3 separate regions of the Homo sapiens genome follow, and regions 1 and 3 are each linked to region 2. Evidence: promoter capture Hi-C in human tissues and cell types (Jung and others, 2019). All regions are on one chromosome and are shown on one strand. Each heading gives the region's core, a stretch centred on a gene start or on the middle of the fragment in contact. The rest is flanking DNA. Distances are from core to core; before and after follow the strand shown.

Region 1 (4,547 bases), core at 669-3,168, 230 kb after region 2:
TTGCATGTGCTGTTCCTACTGCCTGAAACACTTTTCCTCCACCTTTCAGCCTAGAACCAATTCCTCTGGGGGAAGGAGATTGGTTATGTGATTGACGCTGAAATCAGTCTGCCAGGTTCAACTCCCAGCTCTGCCACATCCTAGCAATAAAACCTTGGGCAAGCTATTAAACTCTCTGGCACTGGCTGGACATAGCGGCTCATGCCTGTAATTGGGAAGCTGAGGAAGGTGGATCACTTGCGGTCAGAATTTTGAGACCAGCCTGGCCAACATGGCAAAACCCTGTCTCTACTAAAAATACAAAAATGGCCGGGCATGGTGGCTCACACCTGTAATCCCAGTACTTTGGAAGGCCAAGGTGGGCAGATCACTTGAGGTCAGGAGTTCATGACCAGCCTGGCCAACATGGTAAAACCCCATCTCTACTAAAAACACAAAAATTAGCCAGGTGTGGTGGCATGCGCCTGTAATCCCAGCTACTCAGGAGGCTAAGACAGGAGAATTGCTTGTACCCGGGAGGCAGAGGTTGCAGTGAGCCAGAGGTTGCAATGAGCTGAGATTGCACCACTGCACTCTAGCCTAGGTGACAGAGCGAGACTCCAGCTCAAAAAAAAAATTTAAGAAAGAAATAAAATAAAAATAAAAATACAAAAATGAGCCAGGCATGGTGGTGTGTGCCTGTAATCCCAGCTACAGGGAGGCTAAGGCAGGAAAACTGCTTGAACCCGGGAGGCAGAGGCTGCAGTGAGCCGAGATTGCGTCACTGCACTCCAGCCTGAGTGACAGAGCAAGACTCTGTCTCAAAAAAAAAAAAAAAAAAAAAAAGTAGATAAGGCCTGTTGTGAAAATTAACCAGTATAGTAAGGTGCCTTGCAATGTTACATGTGTCACCTGAGTATTTTCTGACCCTAGACCATGTTAGGACTCCTTGCCAAGTATTTCCCTAAACTTTATAATACCATAAACTCCCAACCTCACTCTTGAAATGTTTGTCCATCTGCCCACCTTGCAGGCTGTCAGCTCTGTGAAAGCAGGGGCTTTCTGACTTTGATCCTGCTCGTATTCCTAGTGCCTGGCATACAGTAGGTACTCACGTTTGTTAAGTCATTAACTAGAAATCCAACACCTCCTAGATATCATATCCTGGTGATATATGCTCTCCAGCAAACAGCTAGTTTGAACAAGGAAGGATGGAAGATAAAGTTTTTAACAACAAGGCATATAGGGCAGACTCACACTAAGGCTAAAAGCACTCACAAAGGCAACTTAAATCATTAAGAAAATATCTTTATTTATTCTGAAATGTTCCAATAATCAATGTAAAAACTGTGGTAGTGGCTCTTTCACAACTTTACAAATTATAGAAAAATGATTTTTCCTCTTCTTTACAGAAATGTCACTCCCAAATCGTACCGGGCCCTATTATGGCTAAAACCCAGCAGGAAGAAGGGAGCAGAGAATACAGCAAGCAGGGCTCCGGCTCTCTGGGTGGCCAGAAGGCTTTTCCTACACATTAAAGCCCAGGCTGAGTCTCAAAGACCTGTGACCCCTCTGAAGGAGGCTCCATCCACATGGATCTGTGGCACACTGGGGCAGGCCTCTGTCTTGAAGGCCAGTAGGCCACAGAAGACCTGAAAGCATGGCACTCGTGGTTGCAGGCCACAGTCAAGGCAGCTTTGTGAGAATGAGAACAGGAGGCGAGCCTATAGCTCAAATCCCTTTCTCTAAAACACAGCCAGAAAAGAGGCTGTGGACACTGGCCAAACAGTGCACTAGGTTTAGAAATTTCCCCTTTTACTCAGCAAAGACTAATTTGTTAAACAGCTATTAAAAAAAAATCAGAAAACAAACATTTGGTTCCATTTCAGCTGTAATCAGCAGTTGGTAATTTTTGGAAAAAGAGCAGTTTTCTCATCTTGAGTTGCTCATTAAGTCTGTATTTTTTATCAGGCCCCTGACTCCTTTCTTTCTCATCCATGGTTTTTTGGGGAGGGGGGCAAGTACAGCTATAGGAGAAGGCTGTTTGTTGATTTGAGAAAACTGTTAAAATGTTTTGCACTCACATACAAAGGCTGATGGAATTCAAAAATGATCCCACTGATTTTTATGAGAAACATGACTGTTCCTCTTGGGTGTCTCAAGTCAAAACAAGGCAACCGCCTAGTGATTTATAGTTCCCACATTTTCCGCCTTCCAGAAGGCATTAGAGAAAGGGCCAACCTCTGCCAGGAGAGATTGTAAACACACCACTGACAGCTTGGACACTTTGTTTTTAAATGCAGCAGGGCTTTTTCCTTTGGCCCTGGCTGAAAAGCCAACTCCCTAGGACAGTTTAAGAAGGAGCAGATGGAAGGACTCCCCTAAAACCTAAGAGTGAGGGACTAGTAGTCCCCGTTGACTGGAGTATGGCTGGGAACATCATCAAAGGCAATGGATACATTTAGGCCATATGAAAATTGTCCTGTGGTCCCCCAACTGGCCCCTAGGCTCAACCTGGCTGGACATGAGGCATAGGAGGTACAGAACAAGTTACCATAAGGCACATAGTTGAGGTAGCCCCCACACCAGGCCCAGAAAGATTATCTTTTCGCACGATTCCAAAAGTGTTGGAAAGCAGAGGAGTTGATGACACTCACTATGAGCAGCAGCAGCAGATACAGGGATATCATGACGGTAAACCAATGGCTGGAAAACCAGGAGAGCTGGCTCGAAGCCCTGCTTAAGAGGGAAAAAAGAGTGGTGTTGGCAAAAAGAGAAAAACATTTTTTTTAAGTGTGTACAACAAGTCTGGCTCTAAGAAGACAAAATGATGAATTTCATCCTTTGCCTGAGCCATGAAATGAAGCTTCGTGCTTCCTTGCTCAAGAAACCTGGGGCTGTTTGCCCAGGCACTGACACGCCTTTCAACAGGATATTTTCTAAATGCGCAAAGACAGCTATGCAATGAGCTCATCCTGATCTTCCCTTTTGTAGCTCCTCTTTTACCATTTACAACCCATCTTGGTATCTATAACAATGACCTAGCTCAGGGTGTCTGCCCAGATGGTGGCAGGTGGCAGGTAATTTAGCTGAAGTCTTTTCACTTTTAGACACATGCAGATATAAATCCAAGCTGGGGAAATCCTCTTTGGCCCACTAGGAGATGATCTAAACCACCCAAGTGTGCACTAAAGAGATGCTCCAGGGAGAAGTGGGAAAGGAATGGAATTTTCAAGGATAAAAAGTTAGATGATTTTAAACCAAAGCATAATGTCACCTGGACCCAGGCACCCTATATACATTTCCCAAATTTGGACAGGGGTCGGGAGGAGACTTTACTGGTTTATGAAGTCTGGAAGCATGGAAACCACTGGTGTGTACAAGCAGGAGTGGGGATTATTTAAAGTGACCCCTTTTCCTGTCATATCTACTTACCTGCTGCTGGCCCCTGCAAGAAGCACCATCATGGATTCCAACAATGCAACAAAATCTCAAGAGTGGCCCCCAACGCTGGTGAGCCCCACACTTACTCCCACACTGCAGAGATGGAACTAGGCATCCACCAAAGCTGATAAGGTCTGAAGGCCCACATCTGCTATTGAGTTCAAGGCCCTCATTTTAGAGATAAAGATGAAGCATCTCAGGTCCAGAGAGGGGCAGTCAGTGGTTCAGCAGCCACTGTGGGAAGCTACTGAGCCAGCCTGTGCACAATCACAACCGGTGTCCAGTCACTGCCCTGCCTCTCAGCTTAACCTCATCGGTGGGTCTCAGACTGCAATCATGGGCCTAATGGCTAAGGGGCCACACTGTTTGCGGCAGCCAATTTGGACTCAGTCAGTCTCTCATGCTATTTGTGTTTACCAATCTTTCTCTCTTCTCACTGGAATACAGTCCTCTTAGGGTCGGGACCACATCTTCTCCAGATCCTATCTCTCACTTCTCACCGTGTCCAGCATGGTGCTTTACATACTTGACATCTAGCGGAGGTCTAAGGCTGGGGGAGGGGAGGCTGATACCTACAACAACTAAGAAAGCCAGCACTCTGAATACAGCCATTAGTTGTTCTCTTGGACCTTACCTCTTGGGTGGCTTCTGTGAATACACCAGGAGGTACTTCACTCGCAGCAGCTGGTTATTGGTGACCACGAAGTACTTGGGAGGGATGTCTCCCCCTTCACTATGTTTGATTCTCGCTCGTCTGCGATCTATCTCCTTGGAATCTGAATAAGGAGAGTAAAACACATCTTCACTGGGGGAAACAGAACTAAGGAAGCACATTATAAATAGAAATAAGTCAAGCCTCCTGGTGCTGAGGGGGAAGAAGGCCTGGCAGGCTGAGGAACAGACCTGTGTGTGCATGAAGCAGCACTGAAAAAAACGGAGAATCTGGCAGGCAAATGGGAGGAGGAAAAAAAGAGTAGGAAAATATAAGGGATACAAGGAAGAAAAAACAAAACTCAACTGAGTGGGGAGAACAGAAGGAAGAAGCAAATTGATGGCCATAGCAAAGAAATACGCTGGGACTGGAAGCTAGGAACAGGACTTGATCTGAAAACGCCTCTTAACAG
Region 2 (4,332 bases), core at 1,778-4,277:
TTAAACAATATAAACTACTTCTAAAGGCCCTTCAGTTACCTGAACCTGGCAGAGAAATTCATTGACTTTAAGCAAACATGTACAGAAAAATAAAATGGTAAAAATAAAAAAAGAAAATATTACAGAAAGCATAGAGTTCAAATTATCACATTTTATATACAAGGTCCATTTATAAAGACCAAGGTTTCTATACTGTATTTCCTTACAAATAAAACTTACTAGGGAAATTTAAGAATAAGAGCCTCATTCAAAAGTCGGCCAAACGAAGCCACTACTCCAACATCATATTCTCCAGATCCCACATCCGGCCACTCATATACGGGAAGCTGAGACTGCACAGCATATTGCTTCACTGGCAGTCCTTTTGGTGATGGGGAAGGCATTGTGACCACCTCCAGTTTGTCGATTAACTCTTCTTCTTTGTTTTCCCTAAATTAGATAGGAAGAAAAATGTGACAGTGTTAAGGCAATGACTCAAAGCTAAAACTACTTCACATATCGCTAAGTATGTTTATGATTAATCTCATGAAGCATTTAGGGCTAAATGATTAAAACTAGTGTGAGAGACTGAGTTTTCATTTTTTCTTTTTCTTTTTTTTTTTTTGAGCTGGAGTCTCACTCTGTCACCCAGGCTGGAGTGCAGTGGAGCGATCTCAGCTCACTGCAACCTCTGCCCCCTAGGTTCAAGCGATTATCCTGCCTCAGTCTCCCGAATAGCTGGGATTACAGGCATGCACCACCACACCCAGCTAATTTTTGTGTTTTTTAGTGGAGGCAGGGTTTCCCCATGTTGGCCAGGCTGGTCTCCAACTCCTGACCTCAAGTGATCCGTCCGCCTCCACCTCCCAAAGTGCTGGGATTACAGGCGTGAACACCGTGCCCAGCCTCAGTTTTCATTTTTTATTTAATTTTAATTATTTAAAATGTAAAGAGTGACACGTGGCTAGTGGCTACTGTTTGAACAGTATCATTCTAGGGATTTCCTGTGCATACAGAAACATATACAGTATGGATACTTTACACAACTGGGATATTACATACTGCTTTGCATTTTTTTTCCTTTTAACAATGCTATATATGCTATTATGTGTCTTTTTGAAAAATGGGTTAAATATACGTATATTTGTATATTCACTGAACATTTCTAGAAGGAACTGAAAACAGTGGCTGTCTCTGGATAAAGGAACTGGGAACTGCTAAACAGAGGTGGAAGGAAGTAACTTTTCACTGTATATCCTTTGAATCCATGGAACTTTTTTACCATAACCATGATGCCATTCAAACACTACTTTTTAAAAAACAAACAAAAATACATAACATGGCTATCATTCCATGGCAGTACCTGTAGCACTACCTCATCCTTTCTACCTGCTGCATAGCATTCTAGTACCCAGGGGGGTACATTTATTAAACAGGTATTGTATGTACACGTTGAGGAGTTATGAGGAGTATGTCCTGGGGCACTATAAAGAAAGCACAGGAGTAATGGAGCTGCCAAGTGAAGCATCATCAGAAGTATCAGGATAGGCCAGGAATGATGGCTCAGGCCTGTAATCTCAGCACTTTGGGAGGCCAAGGTGAGAGGATCACTTGATCCCAGGAGTTTGAGATAAGCCTGGGCAACATGGTGAAAACCCGCCTCTACAAAAAATTTAAAAATCAGGCGTGGTGGTGCACGCCCGTAGTCCTAGCTACTCTGGAAGCTGAGATGGGATGATTGCTTGATCTTTGAGGTCGAGGCTGCAGTGAGCTATGAGCCGGCCACTGCACTCCAGCCTGGGGGACAGCGCGAGACCTCGCCTCAGAAACAAACAAAAAAAGTGTTGGTATAAATGTATAAATGCAGTGAGAGACGCATGTGACAACAGCAGCCCATGAAGGGTGTGCAAAGGGAACATGGGGTTTCCTTCCGGGTGTGTGCACAGAGGGGTGTGTGGAGGAAGGAAAACCACACAGGGGATTGACGAAGGATTCAATACATGAGGGGCTGCTGTGAAGTATCTGTAGGGAAAAGGAGATGGAGATGACCAAAAAAAGTGGAAGGAGGACTGCGTCAGAAAAAAACAGAATGGGGAAATAAAAAACATTAATTGGGAAAAAGAGGCAGAGAAGTATATACGGTATTGCCACCACATACCATGGACTCTCAGGACTGGTTGGATTTCAAATAATTTTCTTTCCCAGTAAACAAAACTTGTTAAATATTATGAATACTAAATGTATACCTAACAGTTCTGATTTATAAATTTATTCTTTTGAAAACAGGTCGTTTTTGGACTATGTCCTTGTATACAAGGAGCACAGGGGGAGCAAAAGAGCGAGACACGGGTGTGCCGAAGGATGGGGGTCAGGAGGAACTGCAAAGCAGGGAACTTTGAAGTGGGACCTGGTTTTAGTCCGAACCACCTCGGCTGATGACCTTGGGCAATCGCATAACCTCTCTGAGCCACGGATTCCCCACACTCAAAACGGGCAGGGAGGCCGTGGGACTGGCCCGGGGGATGCAGGCAGAGCGCCCAGCCCCAGCTCGGCACAGCGTGGGTGGCAGGGCGCCTGGAGAACCCACAGAGGCGGCGGGGAGTGAGGGGCGCAGACCGCAGGTACTAGGCGCCCAAAGGCTGACCGGCGGGAATGGCGCACCTTCTGGGAGCCAGAAGACGCCGAGATCTGGGCCCACACCGCTCTGCCGCCCATGCTTTCCGCAACCAGAAGTCCAAAACCCTCGGGGCCGGCCGCCCGGGCGCGGCCTGGAGGCCTTCAGCGGCCGGGTCCCCGGATCCCTGGCCCGGGTACCTGGCGGCGTGCAGCGCCCGCAGCGCCTCGCGGGCGAACTGGTCCGTGCCGAAGAAGAGCACCCGCCAGGGAGGCTTCTCGCGGACTCTGGAGTCCCGGCAGTCCTCCCAGCCGAGTCGGGCCAGTGCTCGCCACTGGGGACTCGGCCTCCCACGCCTGGCGCCATGAGCCAGCGGAGGACCCCAACAGCGCCGCACCAACACCCTCATCGCCTCGGCCGCCGGCGGCCGGCCCTGCGCAGGCGCATCGGGGCGGGGACAAGGGTGCAGCCTGGGGAGGGCGGGGCTTGCCTGCTTGGAGGCGGGGTCTGGTTGGAGTTGGTGAACGAATTTGCCCGCTACAGCGGCCCTAGATTTTTGTTCTGTTTATTTGCACTATGTAGCCAATCCTCCAGAATAAGTCTTTCTTTTCTTTTTAAAATCGCTTTATTTATTTATTTATTTATTTATTTATTTATTTCAGAAAGGGTCTTGCTCTGTCGCGCAGGCTGGAGTGCTGTGGCGCGATCTCTGCTTACTGCAACCTCACTGCTCCTGGGCTCAAGGGATCCTCCCACCTCAGCCTCCGGAGTAGCTGGGGTACAGGCACACATCACCATGCTGGGCTGATTTTTTGTAGAGAGAGTATCTCACTATGTTGCCCAGGTCTCAAGCAATCCTCCTGCCTTGGCCTCCCCAAGTGCTGGGGTTACAGGCGTGAGCCACTGCGCCGGCCCAGGATAAGTCTTTTGGTAACAAATCGTGCATGTTTTCAGACAATGAAACCTCATGTATATAGTGCATGTCATTTCCTCAACCATTATAACCAATATTTGCTGAGTACTTCACTCCGTGCCACGTTTTTGCTAAGCATTTTATATTCATTATTCTGGTTAATCATCAGATCAACCTTAGGAGGTAGATACTATTACAAATATGTTACTGAAGAGAAACTGAAGCTCCGTGAAATTAAGGACTTACCAGTGTATAAGGTCCACACAGCTAGTAAAGGACAGAGCAGAGGTGGGACTCTTGTAATTCCAACGCTTGTAATCCTAGCCGTTGGGCCTTCTCAGCGATCCTATGTATTAGGCAAGTCAATTACCCACATTTTGCACCTGAGGAAACTGAGCCTTAGTTACTTGTCTGCAGTTACTTTCTTGAATCGAAGGCTCCATCTTTACTCCTCCCCTGTGGGTTCCTTTGCACACAGAAGGATACCATAGAGGTGATTCCTAGGGAAATGGACAGGGAACCTTATCCCCAGAAGACCTCCGAGGACCGTTAGTGCTTAGATTCTGTATCCCCAAAGCCTCCTTGAGTGGAGTCAGACATCCATGAAACAGGATCTGAGCAGAGACTGAAACCGAATTTTGTTCTAATCTTATTCTCACCACCATTTTTTTTTTTTTTTTTTTTTTTTTTGAGATGGAGTCTCGCTCTGTTTTTCAGGCTGGAGGGCAGTGGCGGGCGATCTTGGCTCACTGCAACCGCTGCTTCCCAGGTTCAGGCGATTCTCCTGCCTCAGCCTCCCAAGTAGCTGGGACATGCGCCACTACAC
Region 3 (4,276 bases), core at 1,705-4,204, 190 kb after region 2:
AAGGAATAGAACAGAAGTGATGTTGCATAAGTTCTGGAGTTTAGGCCTCAAGAGAGCTTACAGTTTCCACCATCGCTCTCTTGGAACATTGTCTACCATCTAAGGAAGTCAGTCTATCCTACTGGAGGATGAGAGACCACATGGATAAGAACTGAGACCCTGAGCCAATGGCCAGACAGGTGAATGAGGCCATCTTGAACTTTCCACACATGCAGTTGCCTGAGAAAGTCCAGATGAGACCAACAGAGGAATGGTCTGGACCTTGATTCTGTACAGCCAACCCACAGAATCATGAGAAATAATAAATCATTGTTTTAAGCCACAGAGCTTTGGAGTGGTTTGTTATGCTGCAATAGATAACTGATACACTAAGAGTAAAAGCTCTTTCAGTTGCAAGTAATAAAGCACAACTCAAAATTTTTTTTTTTTTTTTTTTTTTTTTTTTGAGACAGAGTCTCACTCTGTTGCCCAGGCTGGAGTGCAGTAGCATGATCTTGGCTCACTGCAACCTCCACCTCCAGGGTTCAAGTGAGTTTCCTGCCTCAGCCTCCCAAGTAGCTGGGATTATAGGTGAGTGCCACCACGCCTGGCTAATTTTTGTATTTTTAGTAGAGACTCAGTTTCGCCATGTTGGCCAGGCTGGTCTCGAACTCCTGACCTCAGGTGATCCGTCTGCCTTGGCCTCCCAAAATGCTGGGATTACAGGCATGATTCACCACGCCCGGCCTCAAAATGGTTTAAGCAGAAAAAGAATCTGATGGTTCTGATGATGGAAATCTTGGTAAAAGTTGGATCTAGGTACTCAGACAACATCATTAGAACTTTTCTTTTTCCATATCTCAATTGCTTCCTCTGGATGGCTTTATTCTCAAGGAGGCTGTAGCAATCTGTATTTTCCAAAGATGGCTGCAATGGTATTTCCCCTTCCTTATGTTCTCATACAATGTAACTACACTAATCCACCATCAGGAGATAGAATCTAATTTTCCTCCCCTTGAATCTGAGCTGGCCTCATGACTTACTTGTAACCAATAAGATAAGGTCTACTTTTTTTTTTTTTTTTGAGATGGAGTTTCTCTCTTGTTGCCCAGGCCGGAGTGCAATGGCACAATCTCAGCTCATGACTACCTCTGCCTCCCGGGTTCAAACAATTCTCCTGCCTCAGTCTCCCGAGTAGCTGGGATTACAGGCATGCGCCACCACACCTGGCTAATTTTGTATTTTTAGTAGAGACGGGGTTTCTACATGTTGGTCAGGCTGGTCTGGAACTCCTGACCTCAGGTGATCTGCCCGCCTTGGCCTCCCAAAGTGCTGGGATTACAGGTGTGAGCCATTGCGCCCAGCCCTTTTTTTTTTTTTTTTTTTTTTTGAGACAGTCTTAATTAGCCAGTCGTGGTGGTGGGCACCTATAATCCCAGCTATTTGGGAGGCTGAAGCAGGAGAATCACTTGAACCCAGGAGGCGGAGGTTGCAGTGGGCTGAGATTGTGCCACTGCACTCCAGACTGGGTGACAGAGCCAGACTCCATCTCAAAAAAAAAAAAAAGGGTTAAGAGTCATGATATGAAAAAACCACTTTAATAGCTGTCAACCTCAGAGTTTACCCATCATTTGTTCCGTTCCAAACCCACCTATGTAACCCCTGCCATCTTGTAACCATAGCAACACACTCCAGAACAGTTGAGCAAAACCAAGCAACCATAATAACAACTCCAACTTAGGAAATAGGAGAAAAAGAAAGAAACCTTCAGCACTGCACATGCCACACTGGTTGCTGTGAATACTGCAGCGTACTGATCAGCACCTAGTCTTGTAAGCATGTGCTTACTCAGCGGCCATAGGTGGGAGAAGATTCCCAGAGAATGGGCTATGATCACAGCAGATACTCCAAAACGTGCTCAGTAGAGCTCTCCACCCTCTGCATAACACGCTCACTGTGGTCACCCCAGAATGCTTCTCAAGCTTAAAGCAGGGTCACCTCAGTGTTCCTATGATGGATTCAGCCCAGTCAGGGCCTTATGTTCACACACAGCATCTATAGCGTCCACCATGCTTATCACAGTGTGTTCACACACACCCTAGAGGCCCGTGTTTTCACCACTGACTACAGAATTCATGCAATGTCACCATGACATTCAACAAATTTACCATAGTATGTTCACAGTCCATAGCGTCTTCACCACACTTTCATAGTTTGCTCTCATTCAGTGACATTGTAGTGTTCACTGCATGAACCAGCTGAGTTCCTACTCTATATGTGCACGTCATAGTGTTCATACCACTGTATCCCCCTTGTATTTCCCATGAACATCCACATTCACAATTTTGTATAGGATTAGGGGGTGCACATTCACCCAGGTGTTATCTCAAGAGTGTTCACCCTCCCCTGGCTATTCACACTCACCATGGGTATGCCCTGGGTGTTCTAGGGCATAAGCTCACCCATGCACCCACCAGACTCTGCTGCTCTCCTTCCCATGACCCGAGGCCTCTTCATGACTCTCTTGAGAGGTCCCAGATGGCTCTGGGTGTGGTGTGGCTTCAGCTCTGGCCAAGATGCTGGCAGCCCAGAAAAGCCTGCAGCAGTGACAGGGGTGGCCTTGGTAGGGGATGAAGTGAGGTGGATGCTGGGTAGATGCCCTCTCTGGCTATATGTTCTCCGGACACGTGGGTATTTTATTGGTTAGAAAACACAGCTGTGAGAAGTTGAGTGGGAGGAGCCGCCCTCTTTCCAAGCAAAATCTTCGCCCATATAGCACCTGGGCCGTAAGGGTTTGGTCCCTGCCCAGGTCACCACCAGGACTCTAGCCCAGGGAAGGTGAAATGGAGGTTAGAAAGGCTGGGTCGCCCTTGGCAACTGGGCCTACACAGATGGCGTGGGACAGAGGGTGGGACAGAGACAGACACGTGGCCCTGCAGACCATTCTTAGTGGGTTTCCCTTTTTTCCTCAGAAGCAAGGCAGTCTTCAGTGTGGCCGAATCTGGGCAATGTTTTCTCTAGGAGAACAAGAGCTTCAAGGGCAGGATGTTGGGCAGTGACAAGGAAGACAAACAAAAGGGAGAAGGAATTTGAATCCCACCCCCAATTTTTAAAAGTTGAAATTTTTATATTGTAAAATTCAGTCTTTTGGATCTACACTTCTGTGATTTTTGACAAATATAATCATGTAACACCATCACAATTAAGATAAAAAATATTTCCAAAACCTCAGAAGTTTCCTTTGTAGTCAGCCCTTCTCCCCATCCCCAATTACTGACAACCACAAATCTTTCTTTCACTGTGGTTTTGCCTTTTTGAGAATGTCATATAAATGGAGGCATATGGTAGGAGCCTTTTGAATTTGGTTTCTTTCATTTAGTATAATCGTCCATGGTGTTGTGTGTATCAACCGTTCATTCCTTTTTACTGCTGAGTAGTATTCATTGCATGTACGTAGCACAATTTGTTTCTTCATTTCCCAGATGAAGGACATGTAGATTGTCTACAGTTCTTCAGCTTTTTGTTTTGTTTTGTTTAGTTTTTTGTTTTTTGTTTGTTTTTTTTGAGATGAGGTCTCGCTCTGTTGCCCAGGCTGGAGTGCAGTGGTGCGATCTCAGTTCACTGCCACCTCCGCCTCCGGGTTTAGGTGATTCTCCTCCCTCAGCTTCCCACGTAGCTGGGATTACAGGCTCCCACCACCACGCCTGGCTAATTTTTTTGTGTTTTTAGTAGAGACAGGGTTTCGCCATGTTGGCCAGGCTGGTCTCGAACTCCTCACCTCAGGTGATCCGTCTCCTTGGCTTCCCAAAGTGCTAGGATTACAGGTGTGAGCCACTGCATCTGGCCAGTTCTTCAGTTTTTTAAAAAAAATTTTATTCTTATTTTTTTGAGACGGAGTCTCGCTCTGTCACCTAGGTTGGAGTGCAGTGGCACAATCTTACTGCCCTGCAATCTCCCCCTCCTGGTTCAAGTGACTCTCCTGCCTCCACCTTCTGAGTAGCTGGAGACTACATGCACCACCACGCCTGGCTCATTTTTGTATTTTTTTTTTAAAGAGACAGAGTTTCACCATGTTGGCCAGGCTGGTCTTGAATTTCTGACCTCAGGTGATCCACCGGCCTTAGCCTCCCAAAGTGCTGGGATTACAAGTGTGAGCTACCGCGCCCGGCCCAGTTCTCTAGTTTTTAGCAAGTACATTTTAGCTATAATTTGTACACAGGCTTTTGTGTAAACATGTTTTTCATTTCTTTTGGGTAAATACCTACAAGTAGGCTCTATGGTAAGTGTATGTTCAACT

What was found. The method cuts DNA at HindIII sites, captures the fragments that hold promoters and counts their contacts. A contact is called where the count stands out against the background at its distance.
Region 1: a fragment that was not itself captured here is called in contact with the fragment with the promoter of MTFMT in region 2 in 2 of the 25 tissues and cell types used here (liver and small bowel).
Region 3: a fragment that was not itself captured here is called in contact with the fragment with the promoter of MTFMT in region 2 in 1 of the 25 tissues and cell types used here (lymphoblastoid cells).

The regions. Positions count from the first base shown.
Region 1 is chr15:65,256,828-65,261,374 of GRCh38, forward strand. PARP16 (poly(ADP-ribose) polymerase family member 16) reads right to left here. Exons shown (of 6, transcript NM_001316943.2): 5 at 4,058-4,199; 6 at 1,272-2,715. The coding sequence ends at 2,580. Among named protein-coding and RNA genes, the nearest start is that of SNORA24B, 26 kb to the right of the region's middle. The HindIII fragment of the contact is 5,032 bases long and covers 1-4,434 here.
Region 2 is chr15:65,026,612-65,030,943 of GRCh38, forward strand. MTFMT (mitochondrial methionyl-tRNA formyltransferase) reads right to left here and starts at 3,028. Exons shown (of 9, transcript NM_139242.4): 1 at 2,794-3,028; 2 at 220-429. The coding sequence starts at 3,002. It also overlaps the pseudogene LOC100130437. RefSeq lists silencers at 2,441-2,740, 2,991-3,180. The HindIII fragment of the contact is 8,500 bases long and covers 1-4,332 here.
Region 3 is chr15:65,216,068-65,220,343 of GRCh38, forward strand. No RefSeq gene overlaps it. Among named protein-coding and RNA genes, the nearest start is that of CILP, 6.7 kb to the left of the region's middle. The HindIII fragment of the contact is 5,084 bases long and covers 413-4,276 here.